3 separate regions of the Homo sapiens genome follow, and all the other regions are linked to region 2. The links are contacts of gene promoters, found by promoter capture Hi-C in blood cells and fetal thymus (Javierre and others, 2016). All regions are on one chromosome and are shown on one strand. Each heading gives the region's core, a stretch centred on a gene start or on the middle of the fragment in contact. The rest is flanking DNA. Distances are from core to core; before and after follow the strand shown. Region 1 overlaps BRD1 (bromodomain containing 1). Region 2 holds the start of ALG12 (ALG12 alpha-1,6-mannosyltransferase). Region 3 overlaps TTLL8 (tubulin tyrosine ligase like 8).

Region 1 (4,162 bases), core at 564-3,063, 100 kb before region 2:
GTAGCACCTAGGCTGGAGCAGAGGTGATTATGTGTGGCAGTAATCTGCCCCGCTGTCCCCAGTAGTAAAGAAAACTTCACATAAATTTTCAACCCCACTTCTACCAAAAGTAAGTAAATATGGTGAAAGTGAAGAGAGACAGAAATCAGCTACACTGTGGTGTCTCCCCTCTGCTGAGAACATCTTCTACATGCCTGGGGTGCTTCAGGGAAGAGAACCCGGCCTAGAGGAACGTTGCCCCACAAAGCTAGGGGTGGGAATGACATGGTTGGGTACCCAAGTCGCCGGGGGCAGGGCAGAGCTGTCTAAATGGCCAGATGACTGTGGTTCATGGCCCACGGCCCTGCTCTGCGAAATGCTACCTTTAGTTCAGTAAATGCCAGCATCTTTAGGAGAGTCTGAGTGCAGAGGAAGGTGCGGTGAGGCCAGTGAGAAACGCAGCCCATGCTCTGAGCACTCAGAGTTTTCCCCAGCACAATTTTTATTTGCTTCAGCTTTTTCAATTAAAACAAATCTAGGCCAGGCACAGTGGCTTATGCCTGTAATCCCAACACTTTGGGAGGCTAAGGCAGGCGGATTACCTTAGGTCAGTCAGGAGTTCGAGACCAGCCTGGCCAACGTGACGAAACCCCATCTCCACTAAAAACACAAAAATTAGTTGGGCGTGGTGACGTGCACCTGTAATTCCGGCTATTCGGGAGGCTGAGGCAGGAGAATCGCTTGAACCCAGGGGGCAGAGGTTGCAGTGAGCGTAGATCACGCCACTGCACTCCAGCCTGGGCGACACAGCAAGACTCCATCTCAAAAAGAAGAAAAAAAAAAAAACTGTTTCCAGATATAGTAATGTCCATTTCTGTAGAGGAGAATCCCTCCTGCCTGTCAGCCTGCACCAGGAAGGGCTCTGTTGTGAGCTGCCAGCTACAATCTGCACTAAAACCCAGAAAACCAACAAAGTCACAGGAGGGCAGGAATGAGTCAGTGTCTGAAACGGCATTCAGGTCTGTTCCTCATACAGGAGAGCAGGCGCTCCTGCAGGCTGCGTCCACCCAGGTGCCCTCCCGAGCTCCCAGGCACTGGCTGGACCTGCCCTGCAGCTCCTCCTTCCAATGTGTCGTCCTGGCGCTTCCTTCCCGAGTGCCCGCCACTCCAGACCCGATGCAGGTCAAGCACAGGGAGCTGCCACCTGTGGCCTCATGGCCCCTGCCATGCCTCCCAGTGCCACCCGCAGCAGCCAACTCATGCACCCACACTGCCCGGGAGGCACCCACACAGGGCCTCCCGGTGCCACCCGCAGCAGCCAACTCATGCACCCACACCGCCCGGGAGGTACCCACACAGGGCTCTCCCCACTGGGCACTGAGCCAGTGTCTCCTGCTTCAATCCATGCCAGATACAAACTTTTATAAAAAATTAACAGCCAGAAACATGGAGGAAAAAAAGACTTAAAAACACAAGCCAAAGGGGGCCGCGGCCGGTGGCTCTAATCCGTAACCCTAGCACTTTGGGAGGCTGAGGACCACTTGGGCCCAGGAGTTCAAGGATGCAGTGACCTAGGATTGCGCCACTTCACTCCTGCCTGGGCAACAGAGCAAGACCCCGCCTCAATTAAAAGAACAAAACAAAACCTCTGCAGGTACCCACTAGGTGACAGCTGGGATCCTCACAGGGCCTACCTAGTGGACTCAACGCCCCCAAGACAGAACAGCTTCCCCACCCTCTGAGGACGGCTGTGCAGGTCAACAGCCTGGGGCTGCAGCAAGTGCTCAAGGGAGACAACGCCTCCCGACAGTGACCCCAGAAAAAGTTCCAGAATAGTGACATCTTTATTCCAGAGTCAACATACTACCCTCCAGCATTAGACTACAGACTAAGGCTGGGGCTGGGCGAGGTGGCTCACACCTGTAATCTCAACACTTTGGGAGGCCTAGGCAGGAGGATTGCTTAAGCCCAGGAATTCAAGATCAGCCTGGACAACATAGTGAGACCCTGTCTCTATAAAATAGACTAGGGCCAGGTGGCCTCCAACACTGCAGGAAGTGAGTCCAGGTAGGAAAAAAGTGCCTTCCGAATTCTGGGGCCCAAGGTGCCTACCCTGCAGGGAATAGTAAACAGACACTCTCTGGACTGCGGGGGCCAAGGCCCGCCACCCAAGGCCCTTAGCAGCCGGCATATACCACCTGTGGGTGACCTTGTCTACACAGGACTTTGCTATCCATCCGCCAGGACCTGAGGGAAGAGAACTGCCGGACCCCATTCCTGCCCCTTCTGCCACCATTTCAGACACCCCACAGGGACTCATTTTGGGGGTTCCCAAATGAGTTCCCACTGACTTCCAGGAAATCCATAAGCTGCTCTATGACCCCAGCTTGGGTGACCATCTCTCCTTGCCACGCTGACCCTTTTCCCCTGACCTCACAGTGCCTCAAGCTCCAGGAATGGCTCAGAAGGGGTGCAGAGCCAGTGGTGATGGCACGGTGGGTCAAGGAGTCACCCCTGGAGGTGATGTGTCTGGCAGAGGCCTTGGGGAGCTCAAAAGGATGGCACTGGGGGTGCATGACTGTTCATGAAGCCAAAGAGAAATAAAAAGAGGCAGCAGAAGGAACTTTCTTCATGTGAGATAGTTCAAGTTCAGACTTCCTGCTAACAACATCTATTAGGACATGGGCTGGACCAACTCATCTTCCTATGGAATACCAAGACAGGAGATCCAGACAAACTCCATCATGTGCACCAAGCCCAAGCTCAAACAATCAGCTGGTGCAGCATGTCTGCTGAATGACTGTGCTGTGATGGGCTAGGACCAGCAGGCGGCCCAGGGGCCCTAGACTGCTCTGTTCACCTCCATCCAACCACATCGCTCTGCACACCAGGCACCATCTCTGTAGGCTCACCACTAACAAAGGGACCGGTACCATCTGAGGACTGCCTTTACCAACAAGACTAAAAGATTTCTTGGAAGAATATCAATTCCAGGGGTCAATGTTTCTCTTTCTCTAAACATGCCTCACATAGAGGATCTCCAGATGCAGCTGCGTCAAAGACAACCAAAATTCAAGAGACTGCTCTGGATAACCATGCAAAACCCCTTAGAGACAGGGTCTCACTCTGTCACCCAGGCTGGAATACAAAGGTGCGATCACAACTCACTGCAGCCTCGACCTCCTGGGCTCAAGCAATCCACCCACCTCAGCCTTCCAGTGTTAGGATTACTAGCCTGAGCCACCGCACCCAGTCAACTTTTCTAACAGCTCAAGTCACTCTAATTTAAATGCATGAGGAGAATATCTAGGTATTTAAAGTTCGCCACGTATTTTCACCTGAGTGATGCTTCCCTTCCTAAGGCTGACCAAGACCAGTTCATCCTTTTAAACTCAAAATAAAATGACACCAGTGAAGGCGGGAGGAGCACCCTATCAGGGTGAAGGCGGGAGGAAAACCTCATTCGAATGAAGGTAGGAGGAGCACCCATCACAAAGCCTTGCCTATCTGAGGTTCTTGTCCGTGAGGCTGAAGTCCAGGCTCTCGTAGTAGAGGAGCTCCTCCTAGAAGATCTGAAGCAGTCAAAGGAACCAAACCGACACAGGCCGTCTGCCTGCTGATCACAGTCTCTTTTAAGACACTTTCTACTTTGCATTCTGATGAACCTAGGAGTTTTGTTAAACAGATTATGCGTGTATTTATCCCTCATTTCATGCAATAACCAAAAAGAGTTATCAGGAAACCCTGTTTGTCTTTTCACCCCATGTATGAACTCTCATGTGAATGAGTCCTGCAGTAATCCATGTTAAGGGAGCCCTAATTTCAAACTGGTGCAAATGGAAAAGACTTTCCCTTTTCCTTTAAGACTAAAGACAAAATGTCCTCCTGGCCGGGCTCGGTGGCTCACGCCTCTAATCCTAGCACTTTGGGAGGCAGAGGCAGATGGATCACGAGGTCAGGAAATCAAGACCATCCTGGCTAACATGGTGAAACCCCGTCTCTACTAAAAATACAAAAAATTAGCAGGTGTGGTGGTGGGCGCCTGTGGTCCCAGCTACTCAGGAGGCTGAGGCAGGAGAATGGCGTGAACCCGGGAGGTGGAGCTTGTAGTGAGCCGAGATCGTGCCACTGCGCTCCAGCCTAGGTGACAGAGCAAGACTCCGTCTCAAAAAAAAAATGTCAT
Region 2 (4,180 bases), core at 848-3,347:
GGGAGGCTGAGGTGGGTGGATCACAAGGTCAGGAATTCAAGACCAGCCTAGCCAGCATGGTGAAACCTCATCTCTACTAAAAATACAAAAATTAGCTGGGCATGGTGGTGTGCGCCTGTAATCCCAACTACTTGGAAGGCAGAGGAGGAGAATTGCTTGAACTCGGGAGGCAGAGGTTGCAGCAAGCCAAGATCGCACCACTGTACTCCAGCCTGGACAACAGAGCCAGACTCCGTCTCAAAAAAAAAGAAATAGGAAGCAAGCCGGATGTGTTGGCTCACGCCTGTAATTCCAGCTACTCAGGAGTTCAAGACCAACCTGGGCTACAGAGCCAGACCCCATCTCCACAAAAATAATCCCAGCTACTCAGGAAGCTGACATGGGGGGTACTGCTTGAGGCCCGGAGTTCAAGACCAACTTGGGCTACATCATGAGACCCCATTTCTACAAAAATAAAAAATAAAACGGAACGGGGAGCATCTACGTGCCAAGATGTGGGAGGTGCACACAGCAAGTGCTGCTTGGCAGTCCCCCACAACCCCACTCCACACCTCTCCACCCAGGGGAGTTCCCCAGCAAGGAAGAGTTCAGCTGTGGGGTGAAAACATTACGTGCTGACTCTGACACTCCTGGCGGGCCCCCAGCACCTCCTCGGACCCAACAAGGTGTGCCTTCTGCTGATGACCAGCACAGCTCACTTTCGAGGGCATGAGAAGACCAAGGGTGAGTCTGGATTCTCTGCCAGGAGCACGGGAAGACCAAGTCAACACCAGCAAGCACGAAAACCACGACGAACCCCCCACCAGGCGAGGGTGAACGGACACTGTCCTGCACTAGCCCACTCTGCTGGGCAGCTGGGCAGCAGCTGTGGCTAATCTAAGTGACGGGTGCTTCGAGAGCACCCACAGGTTAAAACGGGCCCAGGCCATGACACTTTAAAATGGTGGTTTACAGAACAATGGCATCTCAGATTAGGGAATGACCTGCAAAGACCCTCTTGTCCCCATCAATCCAGATTTTAAGGCCTCTACCGAAATTGATCAAATCAGGCTAAGCATGGTGGCTCACGCCTGTAACCCTAGCACTTTGGGAGGCTGAGGCAGGCAGATCGCTTGAGGTCAGGACTTCGAGACCAGCCTGGCCAACATGGTGAAACCCCGTCTCTACTAAAAATACAAAAATTAGCCGGACCTGGTGGTGGGTGCCTGTAATCCCAACTTAGGAGGCTGAGGCAGCAGAATCACAGGAACCTGGAAGGCGGAGCTTGCAGTGAGCTGAGATCGCGCCACTGCACTCCAGCCTGGGCGACAAAGTGAGACTCCGTCTCAAAAAAACAGAAAAGAAACTGGTCAAATCAGATGTTACTTTTTTTTTTTTTAAATGTGCAGTGTTATCTGCACTCCTTCCTTCCACAGGCAGGAGTTCTCTGAAATCCAGACGCTGCACGTTTTATTTCCCCTAATTTAAACCAGGGGTTCCTGAACATGAGCGAGTGTTCATCACCTCAAGCGCCTGTAGAAATGCAGATCCCCAGCCCCCAGAGACCCTAAGTGGACCCCAGATCCCCAGCCCCCAGGTGAAAAACCCATCCCCCAGGTGGGAGGTCCGGCCCCAGGTGAGGAGCCCGGCCCCAGGTGAGAGGTCCAGCCCCAGGTGAGAGGTCGGGCCCCCGGATGAGAGGTCCGGCCCCCGGGTGAGAGGTCTGGCCCCCAGGTGACAGGTCCAGCCCCAGGTGAGGAGCCCGGCCCCAAGTGAGGGGTGCAGCCCCAGGTAAGGAGCACGGGGCTGTGACGCGTGGACATGCGCGGTGAGGCCTCAGGAATCCAGCGCCAGCGCCAGCTCGGGTCGCGCCCTCGCCCGCCTCCTCCCTGGTCTCGCCGCGCGCCCGCCTGAAGGCCCCGGTCGCGGCAGCGCGCACTGACCTCCGCAGCTCCCGGCGGCGTCCTTCGAAGCGCGGCTGCCTGGGCCAGCCTCGGCAGGAAGCAGGACGGCGGAAACAGAACAGAGCCCGAATCTAAAGTCCTTGCCCAAATCTAAAGTGGCTACCGCAGCCCCGGCCGCTACGGCCGCAGAGACCCTCTGTGCCCTGAGTAAAGATGGCCGCCGCGGGCTGCGCGCGAGGGGCGGGGAGCGGGAGGCGGGGTCGGACCTGCACGCCCCGCCCCCGGACTCCTGGCGGCCGCTGATCCGGGGCCTTCCCATTGGTCACCTCTCGTGGCGAACTCGGATTGGGCCATATCAGGCCGGGGCGGGTCCCATCAACCAATAGCGGCGCGGGGCTGGCGGGTGGGGCGGGGCCTCGCCGGCGCCGTCAAGTAGCCTGGGGGACAGGCCGGCGCGGCTGGGAGCGGGTGGGCGGCCGGGAGGCCGGAGCAGCACGGCCGCAGGACCTGGAGCTCCGGCTGCGTCTTCCCGCAGCGCTACCCGCCATGCGCCTGCCGCGCCGGGCCGCGCTGGGGCTCCTGCCGCTTCTGCTGCTGCTGCCGCCCGCGCCGGAGGCCGCCAAGAAGCCGACGCCCTGCCACCGGTGCCGGGGGCTGGTGGACAAGTTTAACCAGGTGGGAAGGGGCCGGGCGGGGTCGTCAACCTTGGGCCCGGGGTCCCCCTCACCCTGCATCCGGGGTCGCCCCACCTTGGGCCCAGGGTCGCCCTCACCCTGGATCCGGGGTCCCCCTCACCCTGGATTCGGGATCCCCCTCACCGTCGATCCAGAGTCCCTCCACCGTGGTCCTGGAGTCCCCCTCACCCTTGACCCGGATCCACCCCCACCGTGGAACCAGGGTCGACGCCACCGTGGGCCTGGAGTCCCCTCACCCTCGACCTGGGCTCGCCCCCACCCTGGACCCGGGTCAGGTGGTACCAAGCACTATGGGCACTGTCTCCTCGCAGGGGATGGTGGACACCGCAAAGAAGAACTTTGGCGGCGGGAACACGGCTTGGGAGGAAAAGACGCTGTCCAAGTACGAGTCCAGGTGGGTGCCCTGGAGCACCCCTGTGGGTCTTGGCCTGGCGCTGTCCTGGGAAGTCGTGTCCTGCCTTTGGTGCCTGTGTTAATGACAGGGAGACAGAACAGCCCCCGAGGCACCAGTCACCCGTCCGAGTCACCTCGGCTTCTCCCTGAGGACTAATGGCTGGCCCCTCTCTGGCCTTCCAGCTTCTGCTCTGGTCCCTACCCCCTCAACAGACAGTGGCTTTTCAAAATGTAAACTGGAACACCAGCCCCACTTGTGGGAACCGCTCCTGGCTTCCCCTGACAGTGGGGTCCCCTTATTCTCTGTGCCCGGAGTCCTGGCTCCCCGGCCCCTGCACCCAGGTTGGCGTATTGGTTCGGATTTTTCTTCACTGCCTTGGAGGCGCTGACGGTGGGCCGGTGTGGGCCTGTGTTTCAGCGAGATTCGCCTGCTGGAGATCCTGGAGGGGCTGTGCGAGAGCAGCGACTTCGAATGCAATCAGATGCTAGAGGCGCAGGAGGAGCACCTGGAGGCCTGGTGGCTGCAGCTGTGAGTGCCTTAAAACCTCTTAGAAGATACTTTTTATTTTCCAACTTAGAATTTGAAATAACCTCAGACTTAGAAAGGTACAGGAACAGTAGGGAGCTCCCACCTGCCTCGCACCCACCTTACCCCTGCATTACCGTTTTTTATCACCAGAGTCAGCGATCAAAACCAGGAAATTAAGGAGAAGATTCTGTCCACACCTAGACTCTTGTTTCCTGGACCTTACAATACTCCAGAGCATATGTTACGTTCAGCTGCATGTTTGTTTTAAAGAACCGTGTCTGCTGGGATTCAGTGAATGTTTTCCTCCATCCTCAGGAAGAGCGAATATCCTGACTTATTCGAGTGGTTTTGTGTGAAGACACTGAAAGTGTGCTGCTCTCCAGGAACCTACGGTCCCGACTGTCTCGGTGCGTTTCTCCTCAGGGAAATCCCATCTCCTACGTCACTTCCCCTCTTCTTCTCATGATTCTTGGGAGGTAAAAGCACAGAGGGGACCTGGGGTGCATCAGCTTTCTGTAGGGTCTGGGACCCTGCCGGATGGCTGCCTCCCCCATCCCCAACACAGCTTGGAGCACTTCGCACCGTCTGGCTGCAGCCTCACCACTAACCTCATGCTTTAGCGTAAAACTCTGAGTATGTCTTCCCAGCTGTGCTGTTAATTCAGGGGTTCACAGACTCAG
Region 3 (4,172 bases), core at 64-2,563, 98 kb after region 2:
CCCCGACAGCACTCGCCCGCCCCGGCGCGCCCCGGGACTCCCCACCCCCTACAGCGCCTTCCTCCACCTGCAGTCGCGTCCCCGGGCCCCGCCCACCCCGCCCCCCGCCACCGCTCCTCCAGCCCACTGACCTTCCCACACCCCCCGGGAACCCTGGACTGCGTCCACAGACCCTGAGCCCACAGATCCCTGAAACCTCGCCCCTGTCCTCTCCTACCCCAGCCCACCCCCGACCGCGCCCCAGGCCCCCTGACTGTGCCTAGCGCCCCTTGACCTCGACCCCAGGTCCCCGGACCGCACCCACCCGTCCCTCAATCCACACCCACCAACAGGCGACGCCCGCGCCCCTCAAGGCCACGCCCCCAGGCAGGCCCCCCAGGGTCACCCTTATCACCTGCAAGACCAGCCCCAGGTGGCTCCCAACTCGCTCCTGCATGGAGCCCACCTGCTTCCCCCAGCTTTCGGAAAACCAAGACCTCCACTCAAACGCAGGGGGGCGGGGGTAGGGTGTCGTCCCTCTGGGATGAAGGCTCTGCGGATGGGAGGTCCCCTTCCCCACCCCCCTCACCCTCCCTAACGCCCCTCCACCTGGCCCCCCACCCCAGAGGGGCAGTCCAGCTCTGCCTCTAGCTTGTCAGCCTCTCTCAGCCCTCCTCCAGGTGAGTCCTGCCTAGAAGGACCCAACCGGCCAGGAGATTTGGAGAAGAGCAGCCCCCACCCCAACTCGTCCTGCCCTGCTGTGCCTGGGCTCAGGTTCAGATGCCTGGTGCTGAGGACCCATCCCCACTGGGCCAGGACCAAGTGGGTGGTGGGTTCAGGACGGTGCCTGCAGGCGAGGGCCAGCAGCATGCTGGGCCAGCCACAGAGTCCCAGGATGGGTCAGCAGCTGGAGGGGTCAGGAGGGAGGTGGGAGTGTTAAGACTGGGGGTGCTCCAGGAGCCACCGAGTCCCCACAAGAGGCTGCACCCAGTGCAGGCCATCTGGACACACTGGCACCTTCGAAGTGGGCCTGGGCTGGGGCTCCTGGTGGAGCTAGAAGACCTGCTACCCACAACCTGTGGTCAGACCTCACCAGGGCCCATGGGCAGTTCTGATGCCAGGAGCTGCCGGAGGAAGCACACCCCAGGCCCACCATCCCACGTGGTGCCCGTGGTCTGGCAGGCGGCCACGTGGTGCCCGTGGTGTGGCAGGCGGCTGCAGACCGTGCCCTCTCCTGCATGGACTCAAAGGTGGCAGCCGTGATGGGTGAGAGCAGGTAGCTGCCGTCCACCGCAGGGCTGGCCACTCAGCAAGGCCACCCCCTGCATGGGAGCTGCTGCGTTTTGAGAACTTTCACGCAGTTCCTCGGAGCGTCACAGGATAGGCAAGGCTGGCAGGTGTGACCACCATGTGTCCCTTTCATCCGAGAGGCTGGGGCCTTGGCCTGGCTCTCACTGGCCTCCAACCGCTGTCCTTGCCCTGGGGCTGTCCCGGGTCCCTGGCCAGCCCTTCTCAGTGGGGTGAGCCTGTGCCAAGCCCCGTCCCCCATGTACTGGGGCTGGTGAGTCAAACTTCAGGTTGCCCAGGCCAGGAAGGACTAGGGGAAGGCCAGCCTGCACACTTGCTGCAGCTATAGCTGGTGGGGGAGGGACAGAAGGAGCCCCAGGGTGGGGTAGGGATGTGGGGTGAAGAGGGGACTCCCTGGTTTTCCTAGCCGCCAGGGCTGTAGGTTCCCAAGCAGCCACAGCCCAGCCCAGAAGTGCAGGCACCACCCTGCTGGGGCACCCACCGCCCACGGCAAACTCCGAGCCCCAGGCTGAGTCACTCTTCCTGGGGGGCTGGGTGGGGAGAGCCCCCAGTGCCTATGCAAAGCAGTCCTTGGCTTCCGGGAACCTCGGAAGGGCTGGGCCAGCTTGGCCCATAGGACAGGCCAGGGCCCACGTGGCACAAGCAGGGCATGAGCAGCAGGAAGAACGAGGTGGGAACAGCTCCCACTCCCCAGGGCTCTCATCCCAGCGGAGAGACGCACGGAGGCCGGGCACAGGACTGGGAGGTCAAATCTGCCAGGGTGGCCCAGCGCAGCAGGCCAGGTAGCACTGCGGGGCAGGGCCTTGTCCCCCAGGCACCCAGGGCCTGATGGGACCCACCGGGGTGCCCAGAAAGTGTGTGTCCAGTAAGTCGGGGCAGAGGCTGGGCCCACCCTAAGTGAAGGAGGAGGGGACGTGGTGTCTGCGGCTCTCCGTGTGTCTGTGCGTGATTAATGGAGCATGCATGAGCTAACCGAGCAGCTGGTGTGGGGCCTGGACCCTGCTGAGGGAGGGGAGGCCCAAGGCCTGGGCCCCAACCCTGTATGGAGGCCAGGGCTGGGGTGAGACTCATTGTGGGGTGTCAGCAGGCTCCGGGGAGCCACTAAAGCCCATGGGGTGCACTCAGTACCTGGGAGTCTGGGACCCAGACCAGCCCTTCCAGGGAAAACCACCAAATAAGGGCATAAGATAGGAAAAGCATCACAAAAACAAGCAAAAGCAGCAGGCAAGACGGTAAAGGAGGACCAGGTCCAGGCCAGGGAAGGTGAGTGAGCCCAAGGAGAGGGCGCTCTGAAAGGTGCCCGGCCCCGAAGCTCCTCCCTCTGAGACTTTGCCACCAGGGCCACCTGGAGCTCTGGGTCCCAAGGCCCTGGAGTGTGGGGACAGAAGACACCCCATGCCCCCAACAATATGCAGCCCCAAACAGCTGGGTGCAAGGGTGAATCAAAAACAGCAGGGTATGGTGCACACCTGTGGTCCCAGCTACTCAGGAGGCTGAAGTAGGAGGATCGCTTGAGCCTGAGAGTTGGAGGCTGCAGTTGGAGGCTGTGACTGCACCACTGCACTCCAGCCTGGGTGACAGAGTGAGATCCTGTCTCAGAAAAAAAAAAAAAGAAAGAAAAAAGATCAAATAATTTTATTAAAAAGTAGAACTTCTAAAAATGAAAACTTTAAGAAATTAAAACTTCAATGGGTTGATAGCATTCTGAAATGAGCTGGAAGACAGGCGAGGAGATATTTTTAGAATGCAGCACAGGCAGCTAAATAAATCAAACAAAGAAGTGGGAGACTAAAAGATACCGGGAGAGAGAGAAGGCTTAGCAAACATTTAGTTTGTATTCCAAAGGGAAAGAGACAGAACGGGGTGGAGGCAATATTTAAAGACATAATGGCTGAGAGAGTCCCATAATTGAATAATGACACCAGCGCACACATCAAAGACATTCAAATTCCAGGTTGAATAAGTAAAAATCAAACTGAACACTCAAAAGCTGGCAGATAGAACTGACAGCTCCCCTTGGAGAGTGATGGCTGACTCTGCTGATTTTCCCAGAGCCACAGCAAAGACAAGATGGTGGAAAGACGTATTCAATGTTCGGCGGGAGAGTGGCTGCAACCTGTACTCCTGCTGCAGAGAATCTGACGCTGTCATGAACCTGTGTGGAAAAGATATTGACAGACCAAAAGCTCATCCGAACGTCCCATCACTGGCACCTTCCTAAGGGACACTGTCTTGAGCAGAAAGAAAGTGGTTCAGAATGAACATGGTTGGAAGTCTGAGACTCAGGAAGAGTGAAGGGCAAAGAGGAATGTATGTAGTAAATCTAAAAACCACTGGCTGTGCAAGCGATGATGATAATCATGCCCAGTAGACTGTTAAAAACATTATTAAACAGGCTGACAGCAATAGCAGGAAGTCAGAAGGGAGCACGGGACTTCACATTTTCCAGGCTTCAAAGTCGATATATTGCCAGGTGGGTATAAGTGTGACTTCCTTCACTTTAGATTTTGATAAGTTTAACGTGCAATGAGTAATTTGTAGGCAGTGAGTAAAACACCAGAAACAGAGTCTGTAACCTCCAAACCAGAAGAAGGAAAAACCAAAATGAGAGAAGAAGCGTCAATGAAAACTAAGGCAAGAACAGAGAGAAAAAGGAACATAGAATAGATGAGATCAACAAAAGTTAAATGAAATCAAATGGTAGGTACTGTGGTCATCAGGCTCCAAGGCAGCCCCCAGTGATCCTCACCCCCAGGCAATCACGCATGTGTGCTCCCCTCCTGTCTGGATCAGGATTGAGGTGCATGGCCAGTAGAATATAGGGGCAGCAGGGGTATGTGATGTCTTGGGTGAGGTCATAAAGACCTCATGAATCTAGTGGTCTC

The links. Contacts are between HindIII fragments. The CHiCAGO score rates a contact against its expected background, and 5 or more counts as called.
Region 1: a fragment that was not itself captured here is called in contact with the fragment with the promoter of ALG12 in region 2 in 6 of 17 cell types (total CD4 T cells, naive CD4 T cells, non-activated CD4 T cells and 3 more); the score reaches 7.8 in total CD4 T cells.
Region 3: a fragment that was not itself captured here is called in contact with the fragment with the promoter of ALG12 in region 2 in 17 of 17 cell types (naive CD4 T cells, activated CD4 T cells, M0 macrophages and 14 more); the score reaches 13.7 in naive CD4 T cells.

What each region holds. Positions count from the first base shown.
Region 1 is chr22:49,814,740-49,818,901 of GRCh38, forward strand. All of the region lies in intron 2 of BRD1 (bromodomain containing 1), which reads right to left. It also overlaps the pseudogene LOC100420885. Among named protein-coding and RNA genes, the nearest start is that of BRD1, 11 kb to the right of the region's middle. RefSeq lists enhancers at 680-1,223, 1,224-1,766. The HindIII fragment of the contact is 7,778 bases long and covers 1-4,162 here.
Region 2 is chr22:49,916,341-49,920,520 of GRCh38, forward strand. ALG12 (ALG12 alpha-1,6-mannosyltransferase) reads right to left here and starts at 2,098. Exons shown (of 10, transcript NM_024105.4): 1 at 1,923-2,098. It overlaps CRELD2 (CRELD disulfide isomerase 2), which reads left to right and starts at 2,294. Exons shown (of 10, transcript NM_024324.5): 1 at 2,294-2,558; 2 at 2,890-2,972; 3 at 3,390-3,500; 4 at 3,816-3,907. The coding sequence starts at 2,430. RefSeq lists silencers at 1,688-1,887, 1,998-2,497. The HindIII fragment of the contact is 6,188 bases long and covers 1-4,180 here.
Region 3 is chr22:50,015,350-50,019,521 of GRCh38, forward strand. TTLL8 (tubulin tyrosine ligase like 8) reads right to left here. Exons shown (of 14, transcript NM_001350317.3): 14 at 3,226-3,442. The coding sequence ends at 3,435. Among named protein-coding and RNA genes, the nearest start is that of IL17REL, 4.7 kb to the left of the region's middle. RefSeq lists an enhancer at 1,952-2,011. The HindIII fragment of the contact is 6,527 bases long and covers 1-4,172 here.